Regions from separate parts of the Homo sapiens genome. Here region 1 is linked to region 2. The links are contacts of gene promoters, found by promoter capture Hi-C in human tissues and cell types (Jung and others, 2019). All regions are on one chromosome and are shown on one strand. The core of a region is centred on a gene start or on the middle of the fragment in contact, and the rest is flanking DNA. Distances in the headings are between cores, read along the strand shown. Region 1 overlaps FOXJ3 (forkhead box J3). Region 2 holds the start of CLDN19 (claudin 19).

Region 1 (6,253 bases), core at 2,687-5,186, 470 kb after region 2:
GAACTAGTTTGTCTGATGCCTCTTTCTTTTTTCATGTCTTATTTTAGATTTGAATTGTGTATTTTTTATGATTCCATTTTATCGCCACAATTCTGTTATTAGTTATCCCCTTTCTAAATTGTTTTTAGTGATTACTCTAGGGTTTACTATATACATCTTAGTTCATTCAGGCTGCTATAACAACAAAAAGAAAACCAAAAACCTAGAGTGGGGGGCTTACAAACAACAAATGTTTATTTCTCATAATTCTGGAGGCTGGGAATTCCAAAATCAAGATGCCAGCAGATTCTGGTGATGGCCTGTTTCCTGGCTCATAGATGATCCCATTCTCATTATAACCTTACATGGTAGAATAGGGAAATAAATTCTCTGAGGCCTCTTTTATAAACACTAGTCTCATTCATGAGGACACCCTTCATAACCTAATCACCTTAAAGGCTCCACCTCCAAATATCATCACATTGGGAATTAGGTTTCAACATAAGAATTTTGAGGGGACGCAGATATTCAGTTGATTGTAACATCTTTAAGTTACTGCACTTTACCTTCAAATAGTATTAAACCATTTCATGTATAATGTAAGAATTTTATAAACCACGTCTTTCCAGTTCCTTTGACCCATCCTTTTTGCTATTGTTGTCATACATTTTACTTTTACATGGTTCCAAACTCCGTAATAAATTATATTTGCTTTATACAATTTATTTTTTATATTTTACAGTCTGAATATCTTCATACAGTTTTTTTTAAAGCATTAAATCTACCTTCATTTTTTACCATTTCCGGCACTGTTCATTTATTTTTGTGATCTGCATTTTTGTTTGATTTCATACTTCTGCCAAAAGAACTTCCTTATAACAGTGTCAGTGAGCCGAAATGAATTTTTTCAGCTTTTGTTTGGAAGTCTTTATTTTGCCTTTATTTTTGAGAGATATTTTCACTGCACAGGTTTTTTTTTCTTTCAGTATTTTAAGATGTCACTCCATTGCCTTCTGGCTTGCATAGTTTTTGAAAAGTCCACTGTAATTCTTACCTTTATTCCTTTATATATAATCTGCTTTCTCTGGCTGCCTTCAAGATGTTCTTTTTTTTGATTTTTAGCCCTTTCACTGTAATTAATATGGGGATGTGGATTTTTACTTTATTCTGCTTGGTGTTCTCTGAAATTCTTGCATATTTGGGTTGATGTCTTGCATTATTTTTTTGAAGATTCTTGACTGTTACTTCAGATTTTCCCTCTGCCCCATTCCTTTTTTTTCTCCTTCTGGGACTTTAATTGCATTTATCATCACACAGTTCTTGGATGATCTGTTTTGTTTTTGTTTTGCTCTTTGTGAATGTGCCAGTCTCTGTTTGGAAATTTCTGTTACTCTACCCTCAAAATTCTCTGAGCCTTTCCCTAGTTGTGTCTAGTTTAATGATGAGCCCATCTGAGGAATTTTAAAAATCTTTAATCATGTTTAATGTTTTTTATTTCTATCGTTTATATTTGTCTCTTTCTTTAGTTTTCACATTTCTGTTGAAATTCTCCATCTCTTTATGCAAGCAAGTTGTCCACTTTTTTTCTGCTAGACCCTTTAACATATTAAGCATGGTTATTTTAATTTTTTTTTTCTGATAGTTCTAACACCTGAGTCTTCTCTTGGGTTTTGTTGATTATTTTATCTCTTGGCAGTAAGTTTTCCTTTCTTTTCTATGTCTTATAATTGTTGCCTGAGACCAGATATCTGTGTAGAAGAATGGTAGACGTTGAGTTAAATAGTACTTGTACTTGTGAATGGACAAGCATCTTTTTTCTCAGGCCGTTCTTGTGGGGATTGAGTCTGTCTGTCAGTAATGTGGATTTTTTTAAAATTTATGTCTTTATCTTCAGTATACCACAAACTTTACATTCCTCCAGCAGTGGGCTCCTGTTAATTTGTGCTTGGAGAGGGTGCGGTAGGATTTTTTTGTTTTTTCATCTCTTTAGATTTTAGTTGTCTCTGCCCACCTTTTTACACATGGGGATTTCTCGTCCCTTCTCTGTCAGTAGACTGTGTTTGCTTGTTATTCAGTGGTATGCTTTTGGTAGAGGCAAGGAGTTTTCTCTGTTGTGTTGGTCCAGCCTTAGTCTTATGCAGACCCTCGAACTTAGGGTGGGCTGTTTCAGTGTTTCTTCCCTCAGCCAGACTAGTCTTGTGTATCTGTAGTTACTTTTGGGTGAGAGTTTCGCGCCTCTTCTCCAGGTGTAGCAGACCTCTACATGGTATCTGTATAGGATCCTGGGCCCAAGGTAGTTTCCTATACCTCTCCCAGAGTTCAAGGGATTTGCTTCTACTTTTCCTCCAGCAGCAGAACATCTTTGCCTATGTACTGGGTAAGGGTTTCCTATCCCTTCCTAGAGGCACCAGGGTTTTGTTTCCATTCTTCCCCCAGAAGCAGTGAATCTTTGCCAGAGTCCTATGGGTGACAGGTTTTGCTGCCTTTACTGCAAACTTGTTTTTTTGCTTTGTAAAATCTATGGAAGGTTGGTGGGCTTTGTCTCCTCACTGCCTGTCACTGTCAATCACTTTCTTCCTGTTTATGCCACTAGGGGAGACTTTCTTGGGTCTCCTTTCCTACCCCTATTTTTTCTTAGGAACACATGGTAAAGACCTATGGAGAAGAGCTTAAGAGTGTGTGGGAACTTCTCGTGTCTGGGGTTCTTGTTGCTCTAAAGTGACAGCCCCACGCTTGGCCTTTAAAATTTTAGCTAATTTCTTTTTAACTGCTTGGATGGTGGCCATCTCTTTTTCCTGTGCTCTGCCAAAGGTGATTTAGTTGTGTGTCCAGTTTCTCATTGAATAGCCTTGCTCCTCTTAGGAATGTGGTTTGGTTGCCTTGCAACCTGAGCTCTCTGATGTGGCTTAAAAATAGGTTTTTTTTGTTTATTTTTTTTAAAGCTTACCTAGGGTTTTCTCTTTGGGAGAGAGCATCATTCTTTGTAGCTGTTTACATCCCAAGCATAAGTTTTAAATTTCTGCTTTGGTAATAGATGGTCTTGAATTTATATTCTGTAGTCATCTTTTAAAAACGTTTAAAATTCCAATATTGTGCCTGAGGGAGATAAGTTTTATTATAGGCATTCTTGTTAGACTACTGAATTTTATATTAAACAATAAAGCAGATATTATGTCAAAATATGATCCCAGAAGGTACCATTCTAAGTAATGGCTAAATGCAGTTGGACCTCTTCTCTCCCAAATACTAGCCATTTGGGAACAAACCAAGATAATTTGAGAATGGGTTTTGGAGCATTTAATTGAGAAGAAATGGACTTTGGGGCATATTCTGTAAGAATTGGGGTACAGTCCTACCTATTCATGAACAAATTTCTTTTTCACAGACTCTGCAGGTTTCCAAGGGCATTTTCCTGCTACCCACCTTGGGTGTTCTTCCCTGCTACAATGAAGAATTTAGATGTTCTTCCCAGCTCCCTGTAGCCAGTATCTTTCCATGTGGTTTTCTTTTTTACAGATTGTGGTGAGAACCTAATAGGGTTCTATATGTTTTTTTGTAATAGAGCAGTGAATGTTTTTTTAAAGCATTTTTTAAACTAATTAATAAGTGGTAATACATGTGTCTTGCAGACCATTTGGACTTTGCAGAAAAGTAAAGAGAAGAAAATAGTCATCATCTTTAATTTCATGTAGAGTAACTTCTTACATTTTGCATTCTGGCTTATTTCCAAGAATAAATAAATAAAATAAGTACCACAATTAAAGTCATAATATGTATCATAATATGCCAATTTTATATTTGGAATTTAATATTTAACATTACATTACAGGCATCTTCCTGTATCAATAAAAGTCATAAGCACTTAAAATGCTACATATATTACATTTTATGAAATCCTCTAGAAATTATTTTCCAGTAACAGCTTCCCCTCATAGCATTCATAATTTGAAAGTCAGAAAGATTTAAATTTTAAGCTGATTAAAAAGTTTATTCCATTTGTAATTGTTTTGCAAAGCATAAAGATGTTTAGATTTCTAATTCTGTTTTTAAATTTGGGTTATGTTTTTTGGATTTTATTGACCTTATGGCTTTTCTTCTTTAATTCCAGAATTCCATACGACATAATCTGTCATTGAACAAATGTTTCCTTAAAGTGCCTCGATCTAAGGATGACCCTGGAAAGGTAGGATTCATCTTCTTAAAACAGTTGAATTCTTCAGTATGTCACTTGTCATGTTTGAATTAAGAACTTTTCCAGTTCATTGAATAGGAACCTCTGCAAAATAGTAAGTCCTCCCCCACCCTGCTCTAAAGCTTGTTAGAGAGTTTTAAGCTGTGGGAACCTAACTAGTGTATAGCTGTTGCACACCACAGTGCTGTTGTACTTTGCTGTTTCTAATCTAATCTTTGGTTGAAGTATTGTGTATTAAATTAAATTTGGTGATTGAGCTGCTTGTCAGGAACCATAATTCATTATTACATATAAGGGGTGCATCTCTGTGTAACTGGCAAAAAGTGGAAGTATTCTTACACTGGAATAAAACAGTTTCTCTGTTATTAGCCCATTTCTGAGTGTAATCAAGAAGAGTATTCTGTACTTGACTCTTCTTATCTCCTGACACCACTGCATTTTTCACGTTTTTAGCGTTTTTTCTATGGTGACTCCTCCCTTTTTTTGTTGTTTTAATAGCTAGTCAACTATAGTGTGACCTGAACTTGGTCCTAGTTGCTTGGTCTCTGAAACTTAAGAGTACTTGGTTGTACTGTATTTGGTTGTCAAGGTAAGTTACTAGATTAGGACTTTGAGACAGTGTATTTATTGGGAAGCACGATGCTTGTTTAGGTGGCTAGACTTCTTATATTTGTTTTTAGGCTAACTGATTTTGGAAGAATCTTTCTAAAATGTAACCCTGGTCATGTAAGCACCTTGCTTAAAAGTATTCCTTAGTGTCCAGGAGGTGTTTACTTTCTCTTCTTGTAAAATATTCTTTACTGTTTTTTTCTCAATCTGCCTTTCTAGCTATAATTCACCTCATTCAAGACTCATCATGAAGAACTACTTGAAGTTTTCCAAACATGCTATTCATATGGTCTTCTGTACAAATTTCCTTGCTTTACTTGTCTAGACTGCTTCTTATCTTTCAGTATTGAGCTGCAACATGACTTCTCTGAGGCTTTTTTGTTTCCCCATACTTCAGCTGAATTTGTTGCTCCCTCTTTTGAGTTCTTTTTATTTTGTAGCGACCGTCATCATTGTAGTAGCTCCTAATTGGACTCTCAATGGCTGGGCTCGATCCCTCCAGTTTATATTAACTTTCACATAGTAGGCAGCAATCTTCAAAAAAAAAAAAAAAAAAAAAAAAAAAAGTTAACCTACTCATATGGTCTCTTTTTTTCAAGCTCTTTGTTAGTTATCTACTGCCCTTAAAATCTAAATTTATGCAAGTAGGGTTCATGTGTATCTTGTTCACTGTTTAGACCCAGTTGCTTGCACAGTGGCTGATGGCACTGAGGAGACACCCTTGTTGAATGAATGAATATACTGTATCCTCTGTTAGACTGTTAACTTCTTGAAGTTAGAGATGAAGAGTTATTCGTTTCTATCTTTAGGCAGTTTTTCTGAAGTAATGAACATTTTATAGCACTTTTTATCATCTGTCTGCTCCGTCAAGTTGGTTCTCAGTAAGATTGAACAGATTATTATAATAGTCTTGTAAGAAATTGTTTCTCTATGTTTTTAACTTTGAGATTCTGAATAGGAATTGGTGCACCTTTTCCTTTAAAGGAAAGGAGGCTTATTACAAAAAGATAATTAGATTTTAAAAATAAATTCTTTATCACATTTCCTATAGGCAATGAGTATATATGAATCAGACTGAAAAATATTTTTAAGAGACTTCAGAGATTATTTACTAGAGTCCTGTGAAGTTACTATTTGGGTTCTGTAAACATTTTGGTTCTGATTGGATTTTTAAATGAATTTGAAATAATTAAAAAAAATTAAAAATCAGTACACATGAATGCTTAATTCTATCATGTACTTGATTTTAACCAATTGGAGACTCTTAAAAATGTGTCATGTCAGGTATTTTTCTTTTGTGTAGAAGTTTAAGCTTTTGTTCATCTTTAATATATGGGGTAAGACAGATATGGAAAACATGTTACTCTTTGCAACTCTTCTTTTTGAATCAGGATTCTCAATGTGCAACTAAAACAAAATACAGAAATAAATTGAGTCCTGAGAGGCTAATGAGAGCTTTCATCTTTTACCAGT
Region 2 (5,518 bases), core at 1,035-3,534:
AAACAGAAGCACTTCAGAGGAAGAGGAGAGCACTGTTCCGGATCACGAAGAGGCTCTGGGAACACCCAGGATGGAGGAGCATGCAGGCCTCCTGCTGGCTCTGTGGCCCTGTGGACCCGTGGCTCCCTTTCTCTCTTTGGCCCTCAAATTGTCAATGGAGGGGGCCGCAGCCCATGGTCTCTGAGGCATGCTTCTGACTGGCCTCTGGGCTCCTGACCCAGGTCCCCCTGAAACCAGAATGACCCCTGGATCTTCCCTACAGAGAGAGCGCCTGCAGATGGCGGGGAAAAGGGGCCAAGGCCCAGCGTGGAGAGAAGGAGGACTTTGCCTTTGGAGGAGCATATGCGGAGCAGCTACCCAGCACCAGGCCCCTGCCCTCCCCAGACATCGCTTACTTTAACGGACCACCACAACTCCATGAAGCAAACCTCCCATTTAGAGTGAGGACCCTGAGGCACCACAGTCATTCAGGTCACCCCTGGGGAGCATCTTGTCACTGCCCGCAGCCCCCTTCAATCTGGACCTGGTGCCTCCCTCAAAAAGGGAGGAGTGTGGGAGAGAGACCACAGGGGCCAGCACCACACAGTTTCAAGCGGAAAGCCCTTCCTGCTGTTTCCTGGCTGGGGGTCTATTACCTCCCTCTGCCGTGGTCTCCTTACTGTTAGGAGGCCTGCTGCCTGCAACAGTGGCCCACATGCTTAAATTAATGCACTGGTCACAGGGTGCCCATTGCGGCCCCAGTAGGATGGAGGAGGCTCCCCTCAATCCTACTGTCTTGTCATTGTGGTAGAAGAATCTGAGCTCAGGACTTACTTCTCTGCCACTGTCCTAGACCCCATTTGGTCTTGGGACCCACAGGTCGTCCAGGAAGCAGGTCTGTGTGTGCTCGGATCCACGTGGCTCTGACCCTCCCAGCACAGAGAGCCTGAGGGTCCCAGTGTGCACCACCACAGGTCAAGCAGTGCCCACCCTTGACCCTCAGATGGCAGACCACTCCCCCATCTCTGGCCAGAGCTGCAGGCCATACCAGAGGCCTACGCCCTGGGCGGGCACACAGGGCTGCCATTGTCTGCTCAGCGCCTGGCACCCTCTCGTTTGCATAGCCACGTGAAGAATGCAAGAGCGGGCTGGGGACTTGTCCCTTCAGAGGGGGGTTGGGGCTGTGGGGGAGGAAGCCAGCAGGGGTCTGCAGCAGGACCCTGCCTTCCCCCAGTGCAGTCCAGGAAGGGTGGGTGGGCTGTTGGGGACGGAGGGGGCGGCGGGGGGCTGGCAGGAGTGGAAGCAGGGTTGTGACATTCCTTCTGCACCCACGCTGCAGTGGGGCCCACTTGAACGTGAGGGGATTGCTAATGAGGTGGAAGAGAGTTAAACATTCCCCTACTCCTGAAGACCAAGAGAGACTGGGAGAGAGAAGAGGGAGGTGGGGGTGCTCGGAGCGGGCAGCCTGAACCCCGGGAATGTGCAGAGGCCACTGCTCCGCGCCAGGCTGCTCTAGAGTTGGGGGCCAGGGCCCAGTGTTCCAGTCCCAGCAGGAGCTACTAAGCCAGCCAGCAAGGGGATTAAGGGGCTGAGCAATCCGCCTTCCTTCAGGCTGATGCCAGAAGGTTGGGGCTGTCTCCCCAGCTCCCCACCAGGCCCCTTGCTGGCCGGCAGCCAGCGCTGGCCCAGCCTCGATAGGGCCCCTTTTCTGTCCCCCTCAGATCTCAAAAAGACCCCACAGTACATATTTCCTGGTCTGGCCTCCCTGATTTTTGGCACACACAGCTCCCAGGTACCCATGACCCCTCTTCCCAACACCCCACCGCTAGCTCAGCCTCCCCACATCCAGCTTCAGAGCCCCTGCCAAAAAGTTATCCTTGACATCTAACTCTAGTTTTACCCGCTGCAAACTGGCATTCCTTTCCCTTCTGTCCTAAAGTCAAAGGGCAGAAAACCCCAAGGGTTAGATCAGCCTTGCAAGAGCAAAGTCCATCCTCCCAGGGCTGGTGTTTGGGTTAGGGATTATCCGAATTTTAGGACACCCGAATCAGGTTCCTAAAGGGGTTTCCCTGTGGGGAAAGGCCCAGAGGGCAGCTGGGTCATTCCTCTCAGCCCCTCCCTTCCCTATCCCTGCGGAACGGGGCGGGGCAGGGACACCACCTGGGCCATGGGCCGGCCCTCCGCCCCCAGGGGGCTGGGCATGAGCTTTGCTGGGGACCCTGCTCTGGCTTAGGCGGCTGCTGTGGGCGGGCCCTGGCCTTTTCCAGCCCCTGGGCCTCCCCCTGCATTCTGGAGTCCAGAGCCACTGCCTTTGCTCCAGCCGCTGCCGCCGCACCACCTCTCCTTCTCTGCCTCTGACCCTCCTTCTCGCTGCTCCCCCTGCCCAGCTGCTCCTCCCACCTGGCCATGACCAAAGCCCCTGCTGGCACCCTGGCCCAGCTCTGAGTCCTGGGACCCTCGGTCCTCTCTCCTGGGCCATGGCCAACTCAGGCCTCCAGCTCCTGGGCTACTTCTTGGCCCTGGGTGGCTGGGTGGGCATCATTGCTAGCACAGCCCTGCCACAGTGGAAGCAGTCTTCCTACGCAGGCGACGCCATCATCACTGCCGTGGGCCTCTATGAAGGGCTCTGGATGTCCTGCGCCTCCCAGAGCACTGGGCAAGTGCAGTGCAAGCTCTACGACTCGCTGCTCGCCCTGGACGGTAGGCCCCAGGCCGGCGGGGTGGGAGATGGGAGGTGGGAACAGCAGGGGAGTCTGGAGCAAGTTTTCCTCACAGTCTGCTATCTGCGCTGGGCTCCAACCTCCAGCCTCCGCTCTACAATTCCCCCACTACTGCCCTGTGCCCATTGACGGTCCAGGCCAGCCTGCTGCCCTGTGGGAGGGGAGGGCTCTAGGGTCTGGCGGCTGTGGGTCCAGATTCCTGCTCTGTCACTATAACTTTGAACTAGTCACCAAACCTCTTCCCATTGTGATGTTCTCATCTCTAAAGGGGAATACTAATACCTGTGGCACTCTGAAAGACTCAGTTAAGACCCTTCATCCACTTCTCCCCACAGTCAGTAGACAGACACACACTGTATGATGCACACCTGCTCCCTAGTCCTGCTCCCAGGCCTGTGTGCCAGCATATGGGTGCATGCACATGCATGCAAACACGCATGCACACGCACACACGTGCACATGCATGCACAGACAGGTGTGTCTGCATGCAGTCCCTCTCCTTCTGGGGTGTGGAGATGAGCCTGACAGGCACCGCCGAAGTTCTAACTCTGGGGTGGAGGTGATCCACCTGCAATCTGCCCAGGAGCCCCCAGGGACAATCTGCTCCCCATGGGAGCTGGGAGCAGAGCGGCCTTCAACCAGCCCCATTGTGCCAGTTCAGGCAGGTCAGTTCAGGCAGGTCATCTAGCCTCGCTGAGGGACCCAGGTCTCCTGAGCACCCCCCAGGGCCCAGGATGGACCCATGCACCCGTGAAGAGGCAAGCTTCCAGCTGCCATGGGCAGAGGGGAAAGTGACTGTTGTCTGAATGGCTGCTGGGGAGGGGTTGCTGCGGGGCTCAGGCTGAGTTGAGCTGGGCCTCAGATACCCCCAGCTCTTCCACCTACCAAACCTGAGGGGACCCTGGAGCTGCCCTCAGCTGCTTGGGAGGATGGGCCAAGCCCAAGAGGGAGTCCCCAGGCCAGAAAGCAACAGCAGAGTGAATCATACTACCGGAAAAGCCTGCAAGGGCGAGTGGAGAATGGCGTTGACAGTGAAGGGGACTCTCACCCCCACACCCTGTCCTCATGCCCGGGCTGTCACTCCTCACTATCCTGCACCTGCCAGAAGGTGGTCTGACCCCCCAGGCCAGCTCCTGCTCAAGCCCCTCTCAAGCTGGGCTCCTTCCACCGACCCCAGGCACCGACCCAACCCCCATCCCCGCCAGCCCGACTCAGTGTCATCCCGCCCACCCTAGGTCACATCCAATCAGCGCGGGCCCTGATGGTGGTGGCCGTGCTCCTGGGCTTCGTGGCCATGGTCCTCAGCGTAGTTGGCATGAAGTGTACGCGGGTGGGAGACAGCAACCCCATTGCCAAGGGCCGTGTTGCCATCGCCGGGGGAGCCCTCTTCATCCTGGCAGGTGAGTGCCCCTCACTCCTGCACAATCACAACCATGGCAGGCAGCCCCAGCCCCAGTGGCCTCGGGGGGCCAGAGCAGAGCTGAGCGCCCCTCTGCTTTGTCTTTAGGCCTCTGCACTTTGACTGCTGTCTCGTGGTATGCCACCCTGGTGACCCAGGAGTTCTTCAACCCAAGCACACCTGTCAATGCCAGGTGGGTGCCAGGGCTTGGGTCTTTTGCTTTACCTCCTCTGGGGCCACTGACCTTTGTCCACTGGATCACCTGGCGGGGGAAGTGGGGACAGGATCCAGCTGCTGTCCAAGAAGCTTTAAAGGGGGGCGCCAGGAGGAGTGTGGTGGGGCCCTCCATAGGGGCGGGAGGCCTGTGATGGGCACCCAGGTGCAGCAAGGACTCTCTAAGGACCTAAGTGCCCTGGCTCTGGGTTTCAATCCCAGCTCTGGCTGGGTGCAGTGGCTCACGCCTGTAATCCCAGCACTTTGGGAAGCCAAGATGGGTGGATCACCTGAGGTCAGGAGTTCAAGACCAGCCTGGCCAACATGGTGAAACCCCGTCTCTATTAAAAATACAAAAAATATCTGGGCATGGTGGCGGGCGCCTGTAATCTCAGCTACTCGGGAGGCAGAGGCAGGAGAATAGCTTGAACCCGGGAGGCAAAAGTTGCAATGAGCCGAGATTGCGCCACTGCACTCCAGTCTGGGTGACAGAGTGAGATTTTGTCTCAAAAAAATCAAACGATCAATCAATCCCAGCTTTGCATGCACTGTGTCACCTGGGCAAGTTACTTAATCTTTCTGTGCCTAGTTTCCTCCTCTGTGAAATGGAGCTAGAACCTGAGCACCAGTTCACACATGGTTGTCAGGATCCAGCAGGATGCAGGTGAGGGTGTGGCACCGTGCCCGGGCCCTGGACAGTACCCAGCAAGCCTGAGCTGTTTTCATTTCTGCTGGTGGCAGCAGGGCTGAGATGACTTCCTGCAGGAGGCAGCAGTTATTCTGGGCCAGGAAGAAACTTGAGAATAAGGGCAGATCGTGGAGGGCCTTGCAACCACAGGAAGATTTTGTTCCTCATTTGGGTGGAGGCAGCGGCAGTCCTTCTGGCTGTGATGTGCAGAATGGTGGGGAGGGAGTGACACCAGGAAGGCGGCTGTCCCAAAGGTCTGAGCAGAGAGTTTGGGGCAACAGGGAGGGAGCAGTGGAAAGCAGGCTGATATTCAGGAGATAACCAGGACTTGTAAGACTGTGGGCATGGGAACTGAAGGGGATGCTCTGCAAAGGGCCTGGGCCCACCTTGGCTCCTCCCTCACTTCTCAGCCTAGCCAGGAGCAGAGAATGGGACAGTCTTAACCCTAGACATCCCAATGGGCTTTGGGCCTTGGGGTGGAGAGAGGATGAGAAAAGATGTCTGGGCTTTTGCAATCGG

The links. The method cuts DNA at HindIII sites, captures the fragments that hold promoters and counts their contacts. A contact is called where the count stands out against the background at its distance.
Region 1: a fragment that was not itself captured here is called in contact with the fragment with the promoter of CLDN19 in region 2 in 2 of the 25 tissues and cell types used here (hippocampus and mesenchymal stem cells).

What each region holds. Positions count from the first base shown.
Region 1 is chr1:42,263,024-42,269,276 of GRCh38, reverse strand. It overlaps FOXJ3 (forkhead box J3), which reads left to right. Exons shown (of 13, transcript NM_014947.5): 4 at 4,088-4,162. Among named protein-coding and RNA genes, the nearest start is that of FOXJ3, 69 kb to the left of the region's middle. The HindIII fragment of the contact is 5,095 bases long and covers 1,389-6,253 here.
Region 2 is chr1:42,737,002-42,742,519 of GRCh38, reverse strand. CLDN19 (claudin 19) reads left to right here and starts at 2,284. Exons shown (of 5, transcript NM_148960.3): 1 at 2,284-2,679; 2 at 3,935-4,099; 3 at 4,207-4,291. The coding sequence starts at 2,457. RefSeq lists an enhancer at 325-927. The HindIII fragment of the contact is 9,679 bases long and covers 1-3,933 here.